Regions from separate parts of the Homo sapiens genome. Here region 2 is linked to region 1. The links are contacts of gene promoters, found by promoter capture Hi-C in blood cells and fetal thymus (Javierre and others, 2016). All regions are on one chromosome and are shown on one strand. Each heading gives the region's core, a stretch centred on a gene start or on the middle of the fragment in contact. The rest is flanking DNA. Distances are from core to core; before and after follow the strand shown.

The links. The method cuts DNA at HindIII sites, captures the fragments that hold promoters and counts their contacts. A CHiCAGO score of 5 or more calls a contact.
Region 2: a contact is called between a fragment that was not itself captured here and the fragment with the promoter of WFDC5 in region 1, in 1 of 17 cell types (endothelial precursors). The highest score is 5.2, in endothelial precursors.

What each region holds. Positions count from the first base shown.
Region 1 is chr20:45,112,534-45,119,172 of GRCh38, reverse strand. It overlaps WFDC5 (WAP four-disulfide core domain 5), which reads left to right and starts at 3,999. Exons shown (of 4, transcript NM_145652.4): 1 at 3,999-4,174. The coding sequence starts at 4,090. RefSeq lists enhancers at 3,562-4,061, 4,062-4,563. The HindIII fragment of the contact is 2,929 bases long and covers 2,851-5,779 here.
Region 2 is chr20:45,307,914-45,314,096 of GRCh38, reverse strand. RBPJL (recombination signal binding protein for immunoglobulin kappa J region like) reads right to left here. Exons shown (of 12, transcript NM_014276.4): 2 at 5,846-5,954; 3 at 4,405-4,530; 4 at 2,438-2,508; 5 at 2,143-2,258; 6 at 1,702-1,876; 7 at 492-629; 8 at 1-62. It overlaps MATN4 (matrilin 4), which reads left to right and starts at 5,798. Exons shown (of 10, transcript NM_001393530.1): 1 at 5,798-5,922. RefSeq lists a silencer at 2,425-2,474. The HindIII fragment of the contact is 2,139 bases long and covers 181-2,319 here.

The DNA.
Region 1 (6,639 bases), core at 2,750-5,249:
ACCCACAATACATGCTTGTCTGTGCTGGCATAAGAATAAACAGTCAAAAGAAAAGAACGGGCAAGGCACGGTGGCTCACGTCTGTAATCCCAGCACTTTGTGAGGCTGAAGCGGGCAGATCACAAGGTCAGGAGATTGAGAGGAGCTTGACCAACATGGTGAAACCCTGTCTCTACTAAAAATACAAAAATTAGCTGGGTGTAGTGGCATGTGCCTGTAATCCCAGCTACTCAGGAGGCTGAGGCAGGAGAATTGCTTGAACCCGAGAGGTGGAGGTTGCAGTGAGTCAAGATCATGCCACTGCACTCCAACCTGGGTGACAGAGCGAGACTCCATCTCAAAAAAAAAAAAGGAAAAGAAAAAAAATGAAAACCCATAAACAGCCCCTGTTACAATAAGACTTAAGTTATTGATAAAGTTTTAATTCTTAATCAATGGCAAAAGTTTAAATTATTCACTAAATGATCATAGGACAATTGCTTAATTACTTACAAAAAAAAGATATTTCCTATTTCACGCTCTATACCAAGATAAACTTCAGCTAGATTAAAGAATTATCATGTCTTTCAAAAATCACAAAATAATAACAAGTAAATATAGTGAATATTTATCTAACATCAGAGTCAAAAAGCCTTTTTAGCATAAAAATAAAAGGAGAAAATATGAATGAAAAGATTGAATTGATTACCCCAAAATTTAATCCTTTGGTACTAAGCAAAAATGAGGAAAGAAATATTTGCAATATAGCATCAAAGCATTTATCAAGTTTATCTCATTCAGTTCTCAGAACCATCCTATAACACGTATATGATTATCTCTATCTCTACTGGTATACAAAAATAAACAGGGGTTTTACAAAATTAATGTCAAACAGATAGAGCCTATGGCACCAAGATTCAAAACTAGGTCTGCCTAACTCCAATATACATCTGTTCACTACTGCCCCTTGTGTATGACAGGTTAATAGATTCTTAATATATAAACAGCTCTTAAAACTCAAAAATAAAAGGACCCCCAATAAAAATGAGCAAAATACAAAAACAGGCAATTCACAGAGAAAGGATACAGTCAGTATGCGAATATGAAGAAATGCTCACCATCATGGGTATTAAGAGGAAGAGGAAGACAAATTAAAATGAAATATTGTTTTCCGTTAGCAAAGATTTTATTTACTTATTTTTTTAATATCCTGTATGTAGTAAGAATATCCACTAAGGATCTTTGGCTGTGAGCAACAGCATCTGAGCTTTGGACTGTTCTGTTTAGAGAACTGGCTTATCTGTTCAAGACTCTAATGAAGGCGTGGGCAAGTTAGGGGTGGAGAAGAGTGCAGTGGGTGTAACCTGGATCCAGTGCCCTCAGCTTTGATAGGAGAAGTACCTGCTGATTGGCAACCAACCAGAATGACAGCAGTCAGGAGGCAATGGTTCCACCAAAGGAAGAGACGCTGGGCAGACGAAACAATAGAGGTCTATGGCAGGGCAGGTGGAGGCTCTTGTACACTCACTTACTTCCTTTCTGAAATTTAATTTGACCAGATATATCCAACGCCTGGAAACATGACTGTGCCTTTTGACCTAGCATTTCTAACTTTGACAAATTTACTTTAAGAAAACAGTCAGAGATGTGACTCCAAAATGTACACAAAAAGATGGTTATCACAGCTTTATTTATGAAAGTGGAAAATTGGAAACCTCCATGTTTCATAATAGGATACTGATTGTGTATATTTTGGCATATCTTTTTTCCCTAAAAACTTTACTGAAGTGATGTTTTGACATATAGATCTAACAAAACAGCATGTAGCCATCAGAAAACATGATGTTTAGAGAACATTTCACAGCACAGGAAAATGTCTACAAAATAATTTTAATTTAAAAAGCATTGGCATGGTGGCTCATGCCTGTAATCCCAACACTTTGGGAGGCCGAGGCGGGTGGATCACCTGAATTCAGGAGTTTAAGACCAGCCTGACCAACATGGTGAAACCCCGTCTCTACTAAAAATACAAAAAATTAGCCAGGCATGGTGGCGGGCGCCTGTGGTCCCAGCTACTTGGGAGGCTGAGGCAGAGAATTGCTAGAACCCAGGAGACGGAGGTTGCAATGAGCAGAGATTGCCCCATTGCACTCCAGCCTGGATGACAGAGGAAGACTCCGTCTCAAAAAAAAAAAAAAAAAAAAAAAAAAGAGCATTTCATGGCTGAGCACAGTGGCTCACCCCTGGAATCCCAGCACTTTGGGAGGCCAAGGTGGGAGAATCACTTGAGTCCTAGAGTTAGAGACCAGCCTAGGCAACATAGGAAGACCCCCCATCTCTACAAAAAATAAAAACTAGCCAAATATTGGGGCGCATGCCTATAGTCCCAGGTACTCAGGAGGCTGAGGCAGGAGGACTACTTGGGTCCATGAGGTCAAGGGTTCAGTGAGCCATGATGGCACTGTGCACTCCAGCCTGGGTGACATAGCGACATTCTGTCAAAGACAGAGAGAGAAAGAGAAAGAGAGAGAGGAAAGAAGAAGGAGAAGGAGAGAAAGAAAGAAAGAAAGAAAGAAAGAAGGAGAAAGGAAAGAAAGAGAGGAAAGAAGGAAAGAAAGAAGAAAGAAATAAAAAAGGAAAGAAAGAAGAAAGAAAAAGAAAGAAGAAAGAAAGAAAAGAAAGAAAGAGAAAGGAAAGAAAGAGAGGAAAGAAGGAAAGAAAGAAGAAAGAAATGAAAAAAGGAAAGAAAGAAAAAGAAAAAGAAAGAAAGAAAAGAAAAAAGAAAGAAAGAGGGAGGGAGGGGTGGAGGGAGGGAGGGGTGGAGGGAGGGAGGAAGGAAGGGCTCATATATTTGTCCTCCAAAATAAAGCTTCCAAGGAGGTGCCAGCATTCCAAAAGCAACATCAGATCATAGAAGACAGAGCCTCTCCTATCTTAATAGCTTAGAAGACAGCACGAGAGATTCACATTAAACCCAAGGAAGAACTTCCTGCTGCCAGGGCTGTCCTGGATTGGAATGGGTAAGTGAGACAAGCCCTGTAATATCACCCTCCTTTCTCAGGATCAGATGAGGTATTGACCTGCTTTTAAAACCCAGGAACTGAATGAGGGTGATGGGGAGGCCACAGTGGGAAGTCCCAGCTTAGTCAGGAATTAGCTGCGTGTCCTTGGGCCAGTCCCCTCTCATCTCTATCTCACAGTTTCCTCGTCTTTCAAATGAGAAGGCTGAGAGAATGTACTTCGATGGAGTTTCTGTTTAGGATGTCCCTTAGGATGCCAAGTCTCAGCTCCCTCTCTTCTACCAAATGCAGGAGGCAACATCAGAGATACGAAATCTAAGGTGGGGGTCCCTGGATGAGATGACATTTTTTTGCTCAGGATCCCTTAGGGCCAGAGAAGAGGTTCCAGTGGCCACACATCTGCTGTGACCAGCAAACTTAGCCAAGCCAAAAGCCATGCTCCCCCACCCTCAACAGCCAAGCCAGCCCCAGGAAGAGGGCAGTTCTATCAGAAGCCACTGGTGATCTCACCAAAGGCGGGGTGGTCTTTCTCCCATCCACAGGACCCAAGAGGAGAGGCCAGGGCTGGCCTCACTCATTATGCCAGCCTGGGCCAGCCTTCTTTGGCTGCAAGCTCTGGCCTAACCCTAATGCCTTCTCCCTTCCTAGGCATCCAGAACTCTGCAAACCCCCACTCCTTTGCTATTCAAAGCTGACCTCTACCCGCTGCCTAGACATCGCTGGGGCTTCAACATCTTTGAGAGCCAGGATAGCAAGCATCTGCCTCAACAACCTTCACCCTGTGTACAGATGAAAAAACTGAAGCCCAGAGAGACAAGACTTGCCCAAGATCACAGCCCAAGTCACCGATACAGGCAAGACTGGATCTGAGTCCCCCACATGCAGGATGTGCCGCCACCCTATCTTCAGCTATTGTGACAGCATCCCTTGCACTGAGTCCTCGGGCCCTCAGGGGGTGGGGCCAAGATGAAGCAGGCACGGTGTCACTCCACACCCCCTCTCTTTCCTCTCCTGACTAAGTTTCTCTGGCTTCCCTGAGGCTGCAGGTGTTAATCTGGGGGGCCCTGGGCCCTGAGCCGGCAGCAGAAATATGAGGACCCAGAGCCTTCTCCTCCTGGGGGCCCTCCTGGCTGTGGGGAGTCAGCTGCCTGCTGTCTTTGGCAGGAAGAAGGGAGGTGAGTGCGGGAAATCCCTCTGCTGGGGGGACCAGATTGTCTCTACTTCTCTAGGGAGAGTAAGGGTTTGGGGGAAGGCAGGTAATGCCCTGTGGGGTGTGTGTGCGCGTGTGTGTGTGCGTGCGTGCGTGTGTGTATGTGTGGATGCCTGATTCTTAGTGCTTTCAGAAGCCTGTGTTTTTATGTGTGTACATTTGTGCCTGTCCACCTGCCTGTGTTGGTATCTGTAAGTGTCTTTTCTGCCAGTTTCTCGGTGCTTGTCTGTGCCTGTCTATATGTCAGGGGGTGGCAGGGCGGGGAATGCATGTGCCTGTGTCTGTGTAGACATGTGTCTTTGCGTCTGCTTGTCTGTGCAAAGCTCTGTCTGCACACGTACACTTAGGAATGGCTGCACGCATGTGTCTGAGCTTGGTGCCTGTCCATGTGTGTCTCTGTGCCTTCAGGTGTGGGGAGGGACCCTGTCTGTGCCTGCTGGGCTGTGGTGTGACTGGGTCAGTGGGTCCACCACCCCATCTGTGGAAGGGACTTGGGAATTGAGGAGAGGGTGTGGCTTCTGGGATCTGGGCTTTGTGGGGAGGAAGCTCTGTCTCTAACTCTCATCGCCCCCAACCTCCTGTCCCCATTCCCACCCCTGACAAGGCTGGGGCTGGCCTGCTGACAGGTGAGGGAGGGCTGCTGAGTGGCTAGACAGGTGACTCCTGATCTGGGTGAGGCCTCCACCTGCGTCCTTTTCTGGGGCTGGAACACTCCAACCTACATTCACCTGTGCAACCCTTGCCCTGCCTTAAAGAAAGGGGACAGTAATGGGGACAGGCTGAGGAAGGAAGTACACTGGTGAGCTCCAAGGCTGGACCCTGTGTTGGCTGTGATTCATGCACCATCATCACGTAACTCCTCGACAAGGTGCTGTGAGGACAGGACTATTTTCATCCCCATTTTGCAGATGAGGAAAATTGAGGCATAGCGGGGAACCACTTAACAAGGTCAAAGACTGACTCTGAGTTAGTGCCAAATGTGGCATTTGAATGCAAGTATTTGAAATCAGAAAGATTCACCTTACCAACTATTACAGCAAAAACCCAGGACTGTACAGGACAATGCACCCCCAACATAGGAAGGAGCTGAGAGACCAGAGAATGACTTAGACAAGGCCAGATTAGCAAGTGCATGAGTGCAAGTATTTGAAATCAGAAAGATTCACTTTACCAACTATTACAGCAAAAACCCAGGACTGTACAGGACAATGCACCCCCAACATAGGAAGGAGCTGAGAGAACAAAGAATGACTTAGACAAGGCCAGATTGGCAAGTGCATGAGTTTATTAGGACTTCCAGGCAGGACACTCCTGGAAGGCAACAGGACAGGTCTGGAGACTTACTCCTTGTAAAATGGGGTCCCATGCCTCTCTCTCAGGAGTAAATGGTGTCTCGAGGAATAAGGGCCTGGCACACAGTAAGCACAGCATAAGTGGGTGATTTGGGGGAGTCATTGTGTTCCCAGGGAGCACACCCCAATATTCAGCCCAGCTGCTCAGAGGCAAAGAGCTGGCACAGCAGAAACCGAGCCTGCGCAGGGCCACTCTGCATGGGCAGGTGTGACAAGCTTGTCTCTCCCCCAGTTCACCACACCTTGTCCCCCACTGGTTTCTCTCCTGTAAGACATTGCCGAGCTGTTGGTAGAATTTCAGACAATGGAGGAAGGTGACGAAGCCAAGGGAAGGGAAGTCTCAGTTTGTTGCCTGTGGAAGCCCAGCCGCCTCTGTTTATAAGAGCTCCCCATTCTGCCCCCTTCTCACTCAAACGTCTGGGTGTCTCTGATACAAAGAGCCTGGCATAGTCCCTGATAAACAGCAAGTGCCTAATTAAATGCTGTCAGTGGTTATGTGGTATTGGGAAGATATATGTGTCTGTGTAGCTCTGTGCATATGATTCTGTATATATGACTGTGTATGCTTATGTATGTCTCTCTGTTCACATACATATGCTATATATTTATATATTTATATACATAACTGTGTGTGTCTGAGTGTCTATCTGTGTGTATGTATCTATGTGGGTAGGCATGTGTAAATGACAGTGATTATGTTCCAGCTCATATGTACATACATGACTGCCTGTTTATATATGTTTATAAATATATTGCATATATATAACTCTCTGATATATGTCCATATGTATATATGTGTGTATTAAGTTGAACCATGTAAAATTGCTACTTTTGTAGATAAAACAGTTGACTATCTGCAGTTTCCTACTGTTAAGCCTGTAGCTAATTGTGTGTCTAGATCTAAATGTGCTTGTGTATTTGACTATGTGTGTATCGTCTGTGTGTACAAGTGTATATATTTAACCATGTTTGGATACGATTCTTTTGCTCTCTAAGTCTACACACCCATGGCGCATGCATCTGGATGACCATCTGTGTGTGTGACTGTCTCGATGTACACATCTGTGAGTGGAGAACC
Region 2 (6,183 bases), core at 1-2,500, 200 kb before region 1:
GGAGCCATAGCGAACGTAGCCCTCTCGCGGTGGGAAGTCTCCTTGGGCAGAGTGCCCATCAGCTGGGGGACAAAAAAAGCAAGGGACAAGGTTTTCAGCGGCCCCCAAGCTTCTGCCTTAAACCCTGCCTTGTTGCCTCTGGCTCTTCCTCACATCACACATGGGCCCTGCGGGAAAGCTTGGTACTCAGGGGAGCCAACTGAAGGTTCTAATTCTGGAGAGGCCATTTGAGGCCATCCTCACAAATGTCTGCCCTGGGGGCAGGGGTTGGGGGCAGGCAGCTTAGTTGATATATGGGGAAAGGGCATGGATAAGGGAGTCAGAATAGCTTGGAACAGTCACCAGCTCACTGGGACTGTAGTCAAGTCTTTTTGTGTTTCTGAGCCTTAATCACATGGGGCAGAGTTTACCTTCCTTAAGGAGTTGTGGTGGAGGTTAAATAAGCTAATGCATGTGAAGTGCCCAGCTCCAGGGCCTGCAGATGTCATTACCCAGGTGGAGCGTGAAGGCAGCCCACTGTCGTGCACTGGCCACAAAGGCCCCATCCTCCACAGAGAGGTAGCGTGTGGAGACCGTCTGAGAGCGCAGGCGGTTGAAGAGGGAGACCTTTGAGCCGGAGGATATGCACACTGTGAGGGTGAGGGTCAGGGTTAGGGTGAGGGTGAGGGTCAGGGTTAGGGTGAGGGGATAGGGTTAGGGTTAGGATTGGGGTTAGGGTTAGGGTGAGGGTTAGGGTGAGGGTGAGGGTTAGGATTAGGGTGAGGGTTAGAGTGAGGGTGAGGGTAAGGATTAGGATTAGGGTGAGGGTTAGGGTGAGGGAGGGGGTCAGGGTGAGGGTTAAGGTTAGTTGGTGCTATCAGTGCCCTGTCCTGGCTTGGTTCCTTGGACTTTCCAGACAGTTTCCAATCTTCTGTCCCTGTGCCGGCCTGGCTAATGTGCCCACAGGCCTAGATACACTGGGCATTCCCAGTTCACAGCTGTTTTTCCAGGACCTGCTGCAGTCCTGCTTTGGAACCTTTGCCTGTTCCTTTGCTGTCTGGACATCTTTCAGTTCAACAAACAAAAGTAAAACTTTTTTTTTTTTTTTTTGAGATAGCATCTCACCCTGTCACCCAGGCTGGACTGCCGTGGTGCTATCACAGCTCACTGCAGCCTCGACCTCTTGGGTTCAAGTGATCTTCTGATCTCAGCCTCCCACGTAGCTGGGACAACAAGTGCAGGCCACCATGCCAGGCTAATTTTTCTTTTTCTTTTTTTTTTTTTTTTTTTGGTACAGACAAGATTTCGCCATGTTGCCCTAGCTAGTCTTGAACTTCTGGGATCAACTGATCCGCCCACCTTGGCCTCCCAAATTGTTGGGATTACAGGCATGAGCCACCGTGCCCCACCTATGTCACTTTTAGTCTGTCCCTAGTTCAACTCCTGCCTAGTTCAACTTTTGTCTGCTCTGGGACCCCAACTCCCAACCTGGAATTTGGTATCTGTCCCTTTCCTCTCTGCTTTTCATCCTCCAACTCTTCTCATCCCCAGGCCTGGGCCGCACCCACTCATCCAGACTCCTTCCCCTCTCGGCTCCGACTCCACCTTTTCCACTCTGACCCCTAAGCCCAGCCTACCCCCACCTCCGCGCCCCAGTTTAGCCGTTCTGGGCTTGGTTGCACCTCCCCGCCCGGGCCGGGGGTCAGGCCCCGCCCTGCTCACGATCGGTGTTTTTCAGCGACTGCTTCTTCTGCGAGGGCTTCGAGATGACCTTGATAAGGCGGCTGTGGAAGGTACCCAGCTCCCGGCCCCCGCGCAGCACCAGCCGCAGCACCAGCCGAAAGTGCTTCCTCTTGTCTGCATCTGAGATGTACAGGGTCTTGGCGCAGCCGAATTCCTAGGGGGCTCACAGGTACAGGGCCATCTCATCCCAGCCCTCCCCCGTCGGATGAACCAACCTCTCCCAGATATCGGACGTCCGCCCCGTCGGAGGTGACCAGAAGCTCCACCATCCAGGCTCTCAGGCTCGGCCTTAAGGCAGGACCCCGGCCTCCCGGTCTCCCCACCTATCTCTTGGCTTTCGGAGGGGAGTAAAGGAGCCCTCCTTTCCCAGGAGAGGCAGGGATGGGAGCAGGAATCGGACCCCTTCCCGTGCGCTCTCACCCTGGAGTCCGGCTGCTGCTCGAAATTCAGCTTCTGCGTCTCAGTGGCGCTGCCGGACGCGCTGTCCAGTCCCATGTAACCGCAGACCGTGGGCCCCGTTTCCCCCGCCTGGTGAGCTGGAAAGGGACGCGAACTGGCTCTGCAAGGACTCGGGAGGACGCAGGTGCCAGGCAAGCTTAGCGCTCGCCGCCAGAGGGCGCGGGGAGACTGCGCCTGCGAACCGCCCCGTCTCGGGCCCAATCTCGTGGTCCTCCCTACAGAGCAGGCGGCCGGCAGCCCTTGATTCCGCCCTCACCTTGATCCTGCCCTGGCTTCACCCTCCAGCCAGGCCCCGAGAGGTAGACACAGGGCGGGGGGCAGAAGAACCTGCGGAGATAAGTGAGTGTTGGAGTCGTGCATCCATCTCCACTTGGCTCTCCTGTAAGCACGGCAAGGTAGTAGCATAAACCCAGCAGAACCTTCGTTTCCTCCTCCCGCTCCCCGCAACGCTTTTTCACGACTGTAAACCCCATTCATAGCCAAACCTTATTGTTTTTACACCCCTCATTCAACTCATCAGAAGGTCCTGTCCACTCCACCTTCAAAATATAATATATCCAGAATCCACTGGCTTTTTACCACCTCGCCCTTCATCCCAGCCGCCATTACTTTTTGCCTGGACCACAGCATCAGCCTTCAAACTGGTCTATTTCCAGAAAGTTCTGTTTCTATCTCCTTCCCATTTCGCACAGCAGCCAGAGTGCTCCTTCCTTCCTTCCTTCCTCTCTCTTTCTTTCTTTTTTTCTTTCATTCCTTCCTTCCTGTTTCTTTCTTTTTCTTTTTCTTTTTTTTTTTTTTTGAGGCAGGGTCTTGCTCTGTTGCCCAGGCTGGAATGCAGTAACTTGATCTCGGCTGTCTGGGCTCACTGCAACTTCTGCCTCCCCAACTGATCCTCCCACCTCGGCCTCCTGAGTAGGTGAGACTACAGACACAAGCCACCACACCCATCTAATTTTTGTGTTTTTTGTACAGACATGGTTTTGTCATGTTGCCCATGCAGGTCTGGAACTTCTGGGCTCAAGCAATCTGCCCACCTGGGTCTGCCGAAGTGCTGGGATTACAGGGATGAGCCACCAGGCTGGCCAGAGTGTTTTGTTAAAAACATGAGTCAAATCATGTTAACTCCTTAAAATCCTCCACTGGTTTAAAATTCAAAGTCCTCCTGAGATCTGACCCCTGCTTACCTCTCTGACTTGTTTCCTACAACTCCTCCCTCTGATTTCAGCCACTGTCATTTCTTTTGTACCTCAAACAGGCCTAATTGGTACAGCCTCAAGGTCTTCCCATTTTCTGTTGCCCTTTTTTTTTTTGAGACTGAGTCTTGCTCTGTCGCCAGGCTGGAGTGCAGTGGCATGATCTCGGCTCACTGCAACCTCCGCCTCCCGGGTTCAACCAATTATCCTGCCTCAGCCTCCTGAGCAGCTGGGATTACAGGTGCCCGCCACCATGCCCAGCTAATTTTGTATTTTTTGGTAGAGAGGGGGTTTCACTGTATTGGCCAGGCTGGTCTCGAACTCCTGACCTCAGGTGATCCGCCCGCCTCGGCCTCCCAAAGTGCTGGGATTACAGGTGTGAGCCATCGCGCCCGGCCCTTCTGTTCCTTCTAATTGTAGCACGCTTTCCCCAGATATTCTCCTGTCTGGCTCCATTTCAGCATTCAAGTTTCAGTTCCAATGTTACCTCCCAAAAGGTCTCTCAACCTCCTTGACCTTTCTAGCTAATGTCCCCCCTGCCTTCAGTTTCCGTCAAATGGCCTCGTTCAGTTTTCCTTCTAGTGCTCATCATAATCTGCAAGTATCTTGTTTCCTGACTTGTGGGGAGTTTACTGTCTGTCTCTTCCACACTTGAGTGAGAGTGTGGGCTACAGAGCAGGGGCTGTTTCTGTCTTGTTCAGCTGTATGCCCAGTGCCCAGCAGTACCCACAGAGCCTGGTGCATACATGACAAACACTCAGTAAGTAGTTGTTGAATGAATGAATAAGTGAATCAATGGGAGAATGAGTGAATGAATGGAGACAGGAGATTCACAGGGAATCTCCTGCTGTAGAACTATAGACCAAAGTGGGGGCTAATGGTGGCTGAGGGTCAAGGCCCTGGTCGACCAATAGCTGAGATCTCAGCCCTGAGGCCTGCTCTGCGTCTAAAAGAGGCCCAATGGGTGGATGGAGGAGGTGCATAGGGCTGACAGTTGCAGAGACCTGGGAGGGGCTGCGGAGGCACCTACCGCTTCTCATTTCCGTATGATTTCTGGGCCACCTTGGCATGCAGGATCCGCACAGTCTGTTCACACTGTTGCTGCAGGCACCTGCGCACGCCTCCCCTCAGAATGGTGGTGTGCTCTGGGGATGACCTGGGAGTAGGGCAGGCAGGTCGACCAGCCACAGGAGGGAGAAGGGTCAAGGTGGCACAGGGTCCAAGCACTCAGGTTGAGTAAAATGAAGTGAGCAGGGGGTTAGAGTGAGTGGGAGGGTGGGGCTGCTCTATATCCTGCCCCTGTGGGGTCAGGAAGAGGAAGCATTAGGTAAGGAGGAGACTTGGCTGCAAATTGTAGGCTAAATATTTAGGCTGCAAGGTGCTCAACGAAGCCTGCATGGAACCCATGGGACCACCCAGGTTCCACTCTGTGGGTCTGGCATCATGCCCATTGGAGCCCAGGGCCATAGGGACACGTGGCTGTGACACAAAGGCTGCACTTATACTGGCCTTGGGATGGAGAAGAGTATTTTAGGGCTGATGGAATTGGTAGAGATGAAGCTTCCCCACCCTGGGGAAGGCAGGGTGGGGGGTGAGGAGGGAGGGGAAGGGAGAGCCTTTCCTGGGCTCCTGGCCTGGAGCGCTCTCTAGCCTCCTGCCTGCAAACAGAAAAGGGCCCAAAACCTTGTCCTCAGGATGGGGGATGGCCTGGGGGAATCTGAGCCTTTCTGGGGCCAAAGCCATATTCTTCCCTTTCTCCCATGAGAAGTGGCCTGTTGCTGTGTGGGCTTTCCTACCCTTGATTACAGGAGTCAAGGCAGATGACATTGGTCCTGCAGAGTGAGCCAGGTTAGAGCCTAGAGGTCTGGTGGCTTCTTAACCTGGGGGTCTTGAGCGGTGTGGGTGGGTAGGCCCGAGCAATTGCAGGGAGCAAGTAGAGGAGGGGAGGTGGGAGAGATTTGGGGGGTTAGCAGGTTGAGGCCCAAGGAGAGCCATGAAAACTGAGGCTGTCCTTCTGAGCCCTTATTCCTCTTGGCAGGACCAGAGTCTCTCCTCACTCCTGGAGGGGACAGCGCAAGACCGCACCCTCGAAAGCCAGGCCAGACAGGCAGCAGCCACAGCCAGGACCGCTCCACCCCTTGGGGCTCTCCTCAGGGAAGTGCCTTCTAAGCTTCCAATGAATTCCGGCTGTGGAGTGTGGCTGCCCCGGTCTCCCCAGTCTCCCGCTGTAGCTGAATTCCAGCCTGGCCCGCAGCTAGCCCTGTCTGCAGCTCCAAGCGTGGTAGGAGCAGGGGGTGCTGGGTTTGCCCCCCCTCAGGAGGAAGGGGGGATCCCTCCCTGCCAGTGGGAGGGGTTGCAGCCTGCACTTCCCCTCCCCACCCGCCAGCCCTGGGTTAAATGCGGCCGTTGCCTCTGTGTGCTCCAGCTGCCTGGCAGTCCCCACCTAGGGCACGCTGCCACGCCGCCGTTACCTGGTCCAAGTGCCCGGGAGGCTCCGCCTGTCGGCTTCGCTCTGCAGCTGCATCTCTGATCTGTCCTGCAGGCTCAGGTGAGTCAAAGGATTGGGAGGCACTGAGGGGTCTGCAGGGGAGTAGGCATCAAGCCAGGTCAGGCGAGTGTATTTTAGCAGAGACGCTGCCTAGGGTGCCCTATCTGATTTGCAGTGCCCTTCCCCACTTCTGCAGGGTCCTTTCCAAATCGAGCCCCCACCCTCAAAGCCATCAAAATAGGATCATCCCTTTTCTACTCTCATCCCTCCAGGAACCCCCTGAAATGTCCCTAAGGGACTTTTGAGAATTTATTTACAGGC